Linked DNA regions of Homo sapiens: region 1 is linked to region 2. The links are contacts of gene promoters, found by promoter capture Hi-C in blood cells and fetal thymus (Javierre and others, 2016). All regions are on one chromosome and are shown on one strand. Each heading gives the region's core, a stretch centred on a gene start or on the middle of the fragment in contact. The rest is flanking DNA. Distances are from core to core; before and after follow the strand shown.

The links. The method cuts DNA at HindIII sites, captures the fragments that hold promoters and counts their contacts. A CHiCAGO score of 5 or more calls a contact.
Region 1: a fragment that was not itself captured here is called in contact with the fragment with the promoter of AP4B1 in region 2 in 1 of 17 cell types (M2 macrophages); the score reaches 5.6 in M2 macrophages.

Annotation. Positions count from the first base shown.
Region 1 is chr1:113,111,593-113,116,671 of GRCh38, reverse strand. LRIG2 (leucine rich repeats and immunoglobulin like domains 2) reads right to left here. Exons shown (of 18, transcript NM_014813.3): 14 at 3,912-4,193; 15 at 1,796-2,245; 16 at 236-385. Among named protein-coding and RNA genes, the nearest start is that of LRIG2, 41 kb to the right of the region's middle. The HindIII fragment of the contact is 4,473 bases long and covers 566-5,038 here.
Region 2 is chr1:113,901,454-113,906,933 of GRCh38, reverse strand. It overlaps AP4B1 (adaptor related protein complex 4 subunit beta 1), which reads left to right and starts at 2,135. Exons shown (of 10, transcript NM_001253852.3): 1 at 2,135-2,329; 2 at 4,072-4,296; 3 at 5,049-5,179. The coding sequence starts at 2,217. It overlaps DCLRE1B (DNA cross-link repair 1B), which reads right to left and starts at 1,608. Exons shown (of 4, transcript NM_022836.4): 1 at 1,159-1,608. The coding sequence starts at 1,347. RefSeq lists enhancers at 1,720-1,769, 1,800-2,359, 2,440-2,499. The HindIII fragment of the contact is 8,249 bases long and covers 1-4,913 here.

The DNA of each region.
Region 1 (5,079 bases), core at 1,553-4,052, 790 kb after region 2:
GAGCCTCTGCTGTGTACTCTGATCTCTTGTTTAATGTGTTTCTCCACTCTGTAAGATGATTTTCATATCCTTTTAAGACTTTAGTCAATTTTCATCCTATTTTGCATGTGGCTAAATGCTTTCATTAGGTATCTTACTTTAAAATATTGCTTCAGATTAATGGAGAAACTACACACTGAAAAGTAAACTCAATAGAATAGGCTGAAATTGTAACCATAAACAACAGAGTCATTACCGTCAGTGCCTTTGTGTATATATCCATTGGCAGGAGGCATAAGTTGCTGATGACTGCCTGCCTCAGAGTTGCTGTAGCCTTCCTGTGGCTCAGACAGCGTTCCTTGGGAAGACAAGTAGCTGGGAATGTCTGCAGGCAGATTGAGCTCCTCTGTAAAAGAGACATTTTTAACTCTCAAAGGTAGGCAGTTGAAGCCAACACTCAGAAGACTATTTTGCAAATGTGTTCCACTTTGATACTATTAGCAAGAAAAACTGTACGTACCTAGGACCGCAACAGCTCTTGGTACTTCCCCTAAAACTATTTCTCACTAGAATTCTTCTCAAAGCTTCACTTTAAAAGTTTCATTGAAAGAAACAAAACCTAAAGGTTGAAATCTTATCTACTGCCACACTTTCATAATCTATCTGCCTAGATTTCTTTTCTTGCAGGATTCCAGGGTGAGAGGTGTAAAAGACTGACCTCAATGATCCAGTTTGATATTCAAGGGAAAAAAAGAGACTGATCTCAATCACAAGGGCTCCACTCTTCCTTACAGCAAAATTATGATGAAAAGGAGCCTTAGACATTAAAAAGAATGCATCTGTAATGCGTTTTTAGAAGTAAAGTTTGGCCGGGCGTGGTGGCTCACGCTTGTAATCCCAGCCCTCTGGGAGGCCAAGGTGGGTGGATCACGAGGTCAAAAGATTGAGACCATCCTGTTCAACATGGTGAAACCCCGTCTCAACTAAAAATACAAAAATTAGCTGGGCATGGTGGCACACGCCTGTAGTCCCAGCTACTCGGGAGGCTGAGTCAGGAGAATCGCTTGAACCCGGGAAGTGGAAGTTGCATTGAGCCAAGATCATGCCGCTGCACTCCAGCCTGGCAACAGAGCGAGACTCTATCTCAAAAAAAAAAAAAAAAATTTACAAATTCTTAAAATTGGTCAGACGCAGTGGCTCATGCCTGTAATCCCAGCACTTTGAGAGGCCAAGGTGGACAAATTGCTAGAGCCCAGGAGTTTGAGACCAGCTTGGGCAACATGGCAAAACCCGACTCTACTAAAAATATAAAAACTTAGGCGCGGTGGCACATGCCTATAGTCCCCGCTTCTCAGAAGGCCGAGATGGGAGAATCACCTGAGCCTGGGAAGTCAACGCTGCAGTGAGCCATGAATGTACCGATACACTCTGACCTGGGCATTACAGTAACACCCTATCTCAAATAAACAAAATTCTTTCCTCAAAGAGGTTCTGTTATGAACCTATTCCTCAAAGAGGTTCTGTTATATCAAAGAAGTTGAACATTTTAACAACAAAAACTCCCTTCTATCACATATCAGGTAATGTATCACAGCTCTTCAGTTTTTTGAGGGGGAAGATGAGGTCTTGCTATGTTGCCCAGGTGGGCCTTGAACTCCTGGGCTCAAGCAGTCCTCCCACCTCATCCTCCTGAGTAGCTGGGAGTACAGGCATGTGCTACTATGACCAGCTCTCAGTTTTTTATATTGTACAATTAATCCTATACTACATTCTTGACTGAAGTACAAGCCATAGGTGTCATGTGGGTACTACTTACCTGTGTTTGTGATACTATAGTCTTCATTTTTCCTTCTCATGTGGTAAATAACAATGACCCAGATCAAAGAAGTGCCAACAACACAGCAGACCACAACAATGATGACAATGCCAACTGTGGTCCAGCCATCATCTTCATGCCCAATGCTACTCTGGGAAGAGTCACAATTGGGGGATGAAATGACATTTAGGTAAATGTGGCCACGTTCTGTCCCAAGGGTGTTAGACATAATGCAGGTATATTTCCCAGCATCTTCTAGCCCGGCATCTACAATGATGAGAAGCTGATTGGCTGCAGCAAAGAAATGTCGTTCTGTCACCAGCAAAGGCCCATCATCTTTAGTCCAGTTGAGACGAGGGGCAGGACTCCCTCCAGCTATGCACTGTAACACCGCAGTTTCACCTCGTGTTACTGTCTTATCCTCCAGGGGTCTAATAAATGAGGGTGTCTCTAACAGGAAAACATTAAAAAAAAAAAAAATGAAAAGTTAGGCAATTTTATTCCCTAATTTCTACTGAATTAGACCAATGGGGGTATAATAAAATGAGTAATTTTATATACTCATGGGAGGATTAGAAGTTAATGTTTCAGAACAAAATCCTGAAAAAAGCCTCAATCTTTTCTCGATAATTCCAGCTTAGGCAAGCTATCCTAAGAAAGAAGTTCAGGGCAGCTGCAATAGCTGGAGGGGGTGAGCAGCGGTGACCCATTAAAAAAGATTAAAAATAACTTAAAAAAAAAGAAATTCAAAGATTTATACGCAAAGATGTTTACTACAAAATGTGTAACTTTAAAGAATAAAGAAAAACATTTTTAAATCTAGCAGAAAAATGATTAAGTAAATTATAGTCACATGATCTTTTACAAAGACTTTAATAACAAGGCAACTTGTGGTACAATATTAAATGAAAAAAATGTAGGTATATTTGACTACATAAAAGTGAGAGGGGAAAGTCTAGAATATGCTAAAATCCTTAAGTATTTGAGTGACTTTCCTCCCCTTTTCCTAATTTTCTGTATATCTTAACATGTTAAAACAATAAATGACTTATTTTTCTAAGGCTGAGGCAGGCGGATCATGAGGTCAGGAGTTCGAGACCAGCCTGACCAACATGGTGAAACCCCGTCTCTAAAAAAAATACAAAAATTAGCTGGGCGCAGTGGTACATGCCTGTAGTACCAGCTACTCAGGAGGCTGAGGCAGGAGAATCACTTGAACCCGGGAAGTGGAGGTTGCTCTGAGCCGAGATTGCGCCACTGCATTCCAGCCTGGGCAACAGAATGAGACTCCGTCTCAAAATAAATAAATAAATAAATAAATAAATAAATAAATAAATAAATAAATAAATGACTTCTTATTTTTCTGGTTATACAAGTAAACAATACAAACCAACAAACTTAAAAAAAATAATAATAATAACTGACATATAGGAAAATAGAGAACTGGAAAGTAGAATTTACCCTGGATTTGAGTTCCACGAAGAAAAGTATTGTAATAAGGAAGAAAAAACAAAACAAACAAACAACAACAACAAAAAAAACCCAGGCCAGCAGGGGAAAATTTTTAGGAAAAAAGGCATTTTACCAGAAATAGGGTTAAGAAGAACACACTGAAAAGGAAAGCAGAAACTCTAACCAGAAAACACATCTTTTTTTTTTTTTTTTGTATTAAATTTTTTTTGAAAATGAACTAGGAGCAAACAGTTAAATAGTCTTAGGTTCCTATCAAGCAATAAGTGAAGCAGCATCAAATGGCTGGGATACTCCTAAAAGAACAGTGGAACTCTCAATGCAAACTCAGTGAATAGTAAACACACCTACATGAAACAGAAACCTTACAGAGAGGGACTTAAAAAGATAAGCTGATAAAGGAATTTGAACTTTCAATTATTGTGACAAGGATGCCTACCTAATTTTGCCCTATGTATTTTCCCACATTTCAGTTATCTGACCCACTAATTCCTAGACTGACATAACCTTGCATAAAATTGTGAAATAAGATAAAGATCTAAGAATCACAGAGGTAATCTCAAACTTATTTTTCTTGCTCATTAAGACCAAGAGTAGCTCCCAAAGACTCCAACAAAAGCAGGGACCCATGGAGCAGTAAACGTACCTAACACTGTTAGGGAAGCATTTGCTGAGAGACCTCCTGCTGTATTTTGTGCCATGCAGCTATAGATTCCCATATCTTCTATTTTCACATTGGCAATAAAGAAGACGTCATCCTCGGGCATGACGTGCATGCGTCTTTCTCGAGCCGCAGGAAAGTCAGTACCACCATCTTTCTGCCAGGAAATCTGAGGTGCAGGGTGTCCCTCTGCAGCACATTCTAATCTGGCCATGGCACCAGTGCGAATAGTCAGATCCATTGGCGTTTTCAGAAAAGATGGCATCTCTGTTTCCAGAAAAATCACCAAGAAAAAGTGGGCAAGGGAACAAAGACACATATATGCATACAAATAGGCATGAAAGAATCTAGTAGGCAAGACACCCCCTAATGTTCCATTTCTTTGTGAAGACAGGCTCTCTGATTGAGAGTGAATATAGTTTTATAAATTTAAAAAAACAAAAACAAACTTTAGAGATAGGGTCTTGCTCTGCTGTCCAGGCGGGAGTACACTGGCGCAATCATAGCTCACTGCAGCTTCAAATTCCAGGCCTCAAGCTATCCTCCCACCTTGGCCTCCCAAAGTGCTGGGACTACAAGCCTGAGCCACAGCACCCAGCCAAGAGTGAATATGGTTTTGAGAACATCTTTTCTTCCAGAACCTCAGAGTATTTGGAGCACACTGATGACTGTGTCTTCTAGGATGCATGATACACTTAATCATCAGCTGGAACTAGGGAAAGCAGAAGGCCACAAACCTTCTTTGAACTTCGTATTTTAGAACCTGGTATTTACTATGACTCTCTCACTTATGAAGCTAAATGATGCTTCCCTGGGAGGCTGAGGCAGGAGAATCACTTGAAACTAGGAGGCGAAGGCTGCAGTGAGCTGAGATCACACCACTGCACTCCAGCCTGCATGACAGAGTGAGAGTCCATCTCAAAAATGTTCCCAAACCAACATCTACAAAGCTATCAAGGAAACTGCATGCTAAAAAAACTTATGCCTTCAAAAGTATCATTAAAAAACACAGAAGCAAAACATAAGTACATCTTTTGGTTGTACAAACCCTAAAATGTTGTAGTTATTCAATTTAATAGGCAATAGATAAATCAAGCTGTTTTTAAGAAGCTTTTGCAGGAAAGAAGAGTATTCATTTTTAAAATGATCCTGT
Region 2 (5,480 bases), core at 886-3,385:
GGACTATCCCTTACATGAATCAGGAAAGCTGACCAAATCCTGAGCCACCGGGAGCAGAAGCTGTAATGGGGATTCCCAAGCAATCTGCCCTTCCTCCTTCCACTTCCCATCCCACCCTTTGTACAATTTAAGAGTTCAGCTGGCCGGGCGTGGTGGCTCACGCCTGTAATCCCAGCACTTTGGGAGGCTGAGGCGGGTGGATCACGAGGTCAGGAGATCGAGACCATCCTGGCTAACACGGTGAAACCCCGTCTCTACTAAAAAATACAAAAAAAATTAGCCAGGCGTGGTGGCGGGCGCCTGTAGTCCCAGCTACTCGGGAGGCTGAGGCAGGAGAATGGCGTGAACCCGGGAGGCGGAGCTTGCAGTGAGCCGAGTTTGCGCCACTGCACTCCAGCCTGGGCGACAGAGCGAGACTCCATCTCAAAAAAAAAAAAAGAGTTCAGCAAACAGTCTAGTCAGCAATTCCCAAACTTACTCCTGATCTTAATCTCTTGGAGACTTAAGGGTGGGGTGGGGAGAGAGCTGGAGAACCACCCAGCACATTAGGTGGATTCTTAAGATGAGGCAAGTTTAGGCGGGGCGTGGTGGCTCACGCTTGTAATCCCAGCACTTGGGGAGGCTGAGGCGGGCGGATCACTTAAGGTCAGGAGTTAGAGAACAGCCTGGCCAACATGGTGAAACCCCGTCTCCACAAAAAATACAAAAAATTAGCTGGGCGTGGTGGCGTGCGCCTGTAATCTCAGCTACTCAGGAGGCCGAGACAGGAGAATCGCTTGAACCCGGGAGGCGGAGGCTGCAGTGAGCCGAGATTGCGCCACTGCACTCCAGCCTGGGCAACAGAGCGAGACTCCGTCTCAAAAAAAAAAAAAAAAAAAAAAAAAAAAGGCAAGTTTGGGAAACATCGGCCTAGCTTACTTATAAAGGTAGGAATAGTTTCCTTGGCTGGATTAAAATATCTCCTCAACTTATGGCTAACTATCTCAAGTTGGTCACTTCGAAAACACGTTCCTATTCTGGGTTAAAGATGCATTTTTGGGTTCAAACAACTTCCAAATCAGTTTTCGTGGCCCCCATTCTATGACTCCAAGAATGACAGGTTGAAGTCCCAACCCAGATGCCTGGACCAGCTCTCGGAGACCGACTCCAGCCCCATACCTGTAGGTGACGATGCAAGAGGTGGGCTGTAATTGGGGAGCAGTAGAGGGGCCGGGCCCAGGTGCTAGACAGGCCCACGGTGTGGTCCGAGTGCATGTGAGACAAGAAGAAGAGACGTGCGGTGCCAGCCCGGCGCAGGCTCCAGAAGTCCACTGCGATGGGCGTATGGGGGATCAGGACCCCATTCATGGTGGTAGGGTTGGAGTCACCAGTGGGATCTTCTCCACGGGGGCAGGGCTCCTGCGTGAGGCTTCCACAACGGCGTCCCGATAAAAGTCATGCTGGGGCAAGAACAGGGCCAGAGACCCTAAGGGAAAGAGCCCAGCAGAGCAATAAGTTACCAGAGTGGGCAGAAAAAGGAAGTCACCCTGCCCGCTGGAGCCCAAATCGCGGAGGGCGCTGGACACTCCCAACCGCGCGGGAGCGGAGGCCGAGCCGGGCACTCAAAGCGCGCGCTGCAGGGAGGAGACAGGCCAAAGTAGCCGATTTCCGATTGCCCGCCGCAGCTCCACCAGAGGGAGCCGCGCAGCTGCGCCTGGAGAGTGAGAGGTTGGGGGAAGGGCATCCTAAGGTCGGAGTCGGGACTACGCTTAGCGCTCGCTCGCGGGGAGACCGGCAGCGGTCTTCTGTTTGGTCTCTTGACAAGGGGGCGGGACTTCCGCAGAAAGCAAGATTGGGCCTATCCGCGATGAGAACGGCGTGGAGGGGGAATTAAGGCTGGAACTGGAGAGGGAGGGGTCTGCGGTCAGTCGGACGCGGCGCTGGAAATCCGGCGGAGGACCTAGAAGTAGCGGGAGCGATCTGTGGGCGGGGCGAACGGCCTGCCGGCCGACGGTAGGGCCTGAAGAGCCTAGGGTGGGGCTCGCGGTGTCGCGGAGGGCGTGGAAGTGTGTCAGGGCCAGCGTGCCGGCCCTACGGAAGCCGAGCCTGAGGCGAGATCTCGCCTTTTGTATTTTCACTGACTCATATTTCCTTTACTCAGGCTCCCACATCAGGACGAGAAGGAGCCCTCGAGTTACCGTGGGAGCTGTGGGAGCTGCCCTGTGACTCTTAGGAAGATGCCGTACCTTGGCTCCGAGGACGTGGTGAAGGAGCTGAAGAAGGCTCTGTGCAATCCTCACATTCAAGCTGATAGGCTGCGCTACCGGAATGTCATCCAGCGAGTGATTAGGTATCACCTACCTCCCTTCGCGTGCTAACTGCTCCCTTTGCAATCCCCATCAGGGCTCACTAGCCCCAGTCTCTCTGAAAGGGTGAATTAGCTTTCACACGTGGCAGTTATATGGTTCGGTCTTCGTCCTGCTGCTTTGGAGTACCATGTCAGTCTCCCCTCTGCAGCATCTTTTACTCAGCTGGGTAGTTTCCTCCATATCACGGGCTTGAGCAATTACTGGTGACTCTTGGATCTATAATATAGCTAGTACAGACTTCCTTTTTTAGCTTCAGACCCACGTATCCCACTGCCTGCTTGGCATTTCCACGTGCGTGGTTTATCAAAAGTATGTCCGAAATAGCCCGGACATTCTTCCGTCTTCCTCAAACCTGTTCAGCTTACATTTGTGTTGATGAATGCCACCAGCAGCCGACTATGCGTGGGAGCCAACCTTGAGGACACCTGATCTCTCACTTCTTATGTCAGATGGTTTGAATTCATAATTCTAAATATCCATCCTCTCTTGTTTATTAGCATTGTTGTTCTGGTCCAGGCCTTCATCAATAAAGCAATTGCAGCAGCTTACTAGTAGGCCACTTTGCCTCATTTGAGACAGAATTTTTCCATTATACATACCTGAACACATAACTCTTGCCTACAGCTATGGTTCACAAACTTTACTATGCATAAAAATCCCTTGGGGTGCTTTTTGTCATCCAGTCCAGGGACTGATTCTGATTTCAGTAGGGTGGGAGGGAACCCAGGAATCTGTATTTTTAATAAACATTTCAGTTGGTTCCAGTAGGAGACCAGTCTGAGAAACAATAAAGTCCAAACTTATCACAGCACCCAAGGAACAAGCTGTTAATTCAACTACCTACAGACTCTTAAAAAAATGTGTGCTGCTCCTGCTCATGTCTACTTACCTCATAGCATGTATCTTTACCTTGCTATTACATCTGCCTAGTGAGCTCCTGCTCATTCAGCTAAAGTATTACTTCCTCTGTGAAGAAACATTTTCTGACTTCCTGCCAGTGTCAGACCTCTGAATCCCCTCTACACCTTGTACAATACTTCTGTTTAAGTACTTATCTATCATACTGTAATTAACGGTATTCTCATCTGGCTCATTAATAGATTTGAAGTTCCTAGAGGTTTGAGACCACACCTTCTTCAAGATTATGTCCCAAGAGCATGTCCCTGGATGTAAAAGTTGAATTTCACCAAAGTACTAGGGATTCAATAAGTGTTTGTTGAGGCTGGGTGCGGTGGCTCACGCTGGTAATCCCAGCACTTTGGGAGGCCAAGGCGGGTGGATCACCTGCAGTCAGGAGTTCGAGACCAGCCTGGCCAACATGGAGAAACCCCGTCTCTACTAAAAATACAAAAATTAGCTGGGCGTGGTGGCACGCACCTGTAGTCCCAGCTACTCGGGAGGCTGAGGCAGGAGAATCGCTTGAACCTGGGAAGCGGAGCTTATAATGAGCCGAGATTGTGCCACTGCACTCTAGCCTGGGTAACAGAGCAAGACTCTGTCTCAAAAATAATAATAAGTGTTTGTTGAATGAATAGAAGAATAATGTTTATTGTAGGCCTATGGTATGAAGTACTGTGTGATATAATAGACAAGGTAATCCTGGCTGCTACCCTCTAAGAGATCACAATCTAGTTGGGTAATCAGGAGATATGTAAGTAAAACTCCCTCCATTGTAAGTTGGGGATTTTGCATTTTACTTCCTTCTGTCATGTGCGTTGTTCAGGTACATGACTCAAGGCTTGGACATGTCTGGTGTTTTTATGGAAATGGTGAAGGCCAGTGCCACTGTAGATATTGTCCAGAAGAAGTTGGTTTATCTGTACATGTGCACATATGCTCCCCTGAAACCAGATCTGGCTCTCCTGGCCATCAATACGCTGTGCAAAGACTGCTCAGACCCCAATCCAATGGTGCGAGGGCTGGCGTTACGGAGCATGTGTAGCCTCAGGTGAGTACCCTCTTCTCTGTCTGGTCCTAAATGGCTGATGAATTCAAGTGATCACAGGGTAGGTTTTTAAAGAGGATAATTTATTTGAGCTCCTTAATACTGGGGAAAACATTATTGTACCCTGAACTCAGATTTTCAGCCACTGCTTTGGCTTAATAACCTGTATCATATAATTTTATTAGAGGGAGTTTTTGATTCTCACTCTAAGTAAAATAGTCCTCAGTTTTGGTTAAATATCTCTAAACAATTATGTGTATATCTTTTTTTGCTGCCTGTGCATCATTATTCCAAATGAAAAGTCAAATTAGGCTGGGCACAGTGGCTCATGCCTGTAGACCCAGCACTTTGGGAGGCTTAGACAGGAAGATTGCTTGAGCCCAGGAATTTGAGACCAGCTGGGCAAGATGGTGAGAGCCTATATCTACAAAAAATTAAATGGGCATGGTGACACGCACCTGTAGTCTCAGCTACTAGGAAGGCTGAGGCAGGAGGATGGCTTGGGCCCGGGAATTCAAGGCAGCAGTGAGCTATGATCGGGCCACTGGGTGACAAAGTGAGACCCCATCTTGAAAAAAACAAGAAAAAAACAGAAAAGTCAAATTATGGCTTTTTAAGCTTGATAGAGGCTTTCTGCAATTCTTCATGATCTGATGGGTGCAGCATCTACTAAACCATCTGTTAGGTGAACAGGGGCTGAGGTATGTCAAAATTAGTATTTCAGAATCTGGCTAACTCCAGGATGTGTTGCTTAGGATGCCTGGTGTGCAGGAGTATATACAACAGCCTATTCTCAATGGTCTGCGGGATAAGGCTTCATATGTCAGGAGAGTGGCAGTCCTTGGATGTGCCAAGATGCATAATCTTCATGGAGACTCTGAAGTAGGTAAGTTCAGTGTAATCCATCATGGTCAATGTGCCTCCATTATGTATAACTTTAAAAAAGATTGTGTGGCTTTGGTAGAAAATAATAATGTGGCCCCAGTTCTGTACATATCTCTTTAAGTAGGATGCAGGGCTTGGTATCTTCTGGAGATGAGAAGTCCTTTCTCTGGGGCCCCAATGAGATCCTTTGTATTAGCTGCTTAGAACAGTCTGGACATGGCAGTTTTTTTTTTGCCTTGCACTTTAGTGTGGCCTTTGTCATTTTTGTAGCAGAGAAGTTCAACTTTGTCTACCTGGAGCTA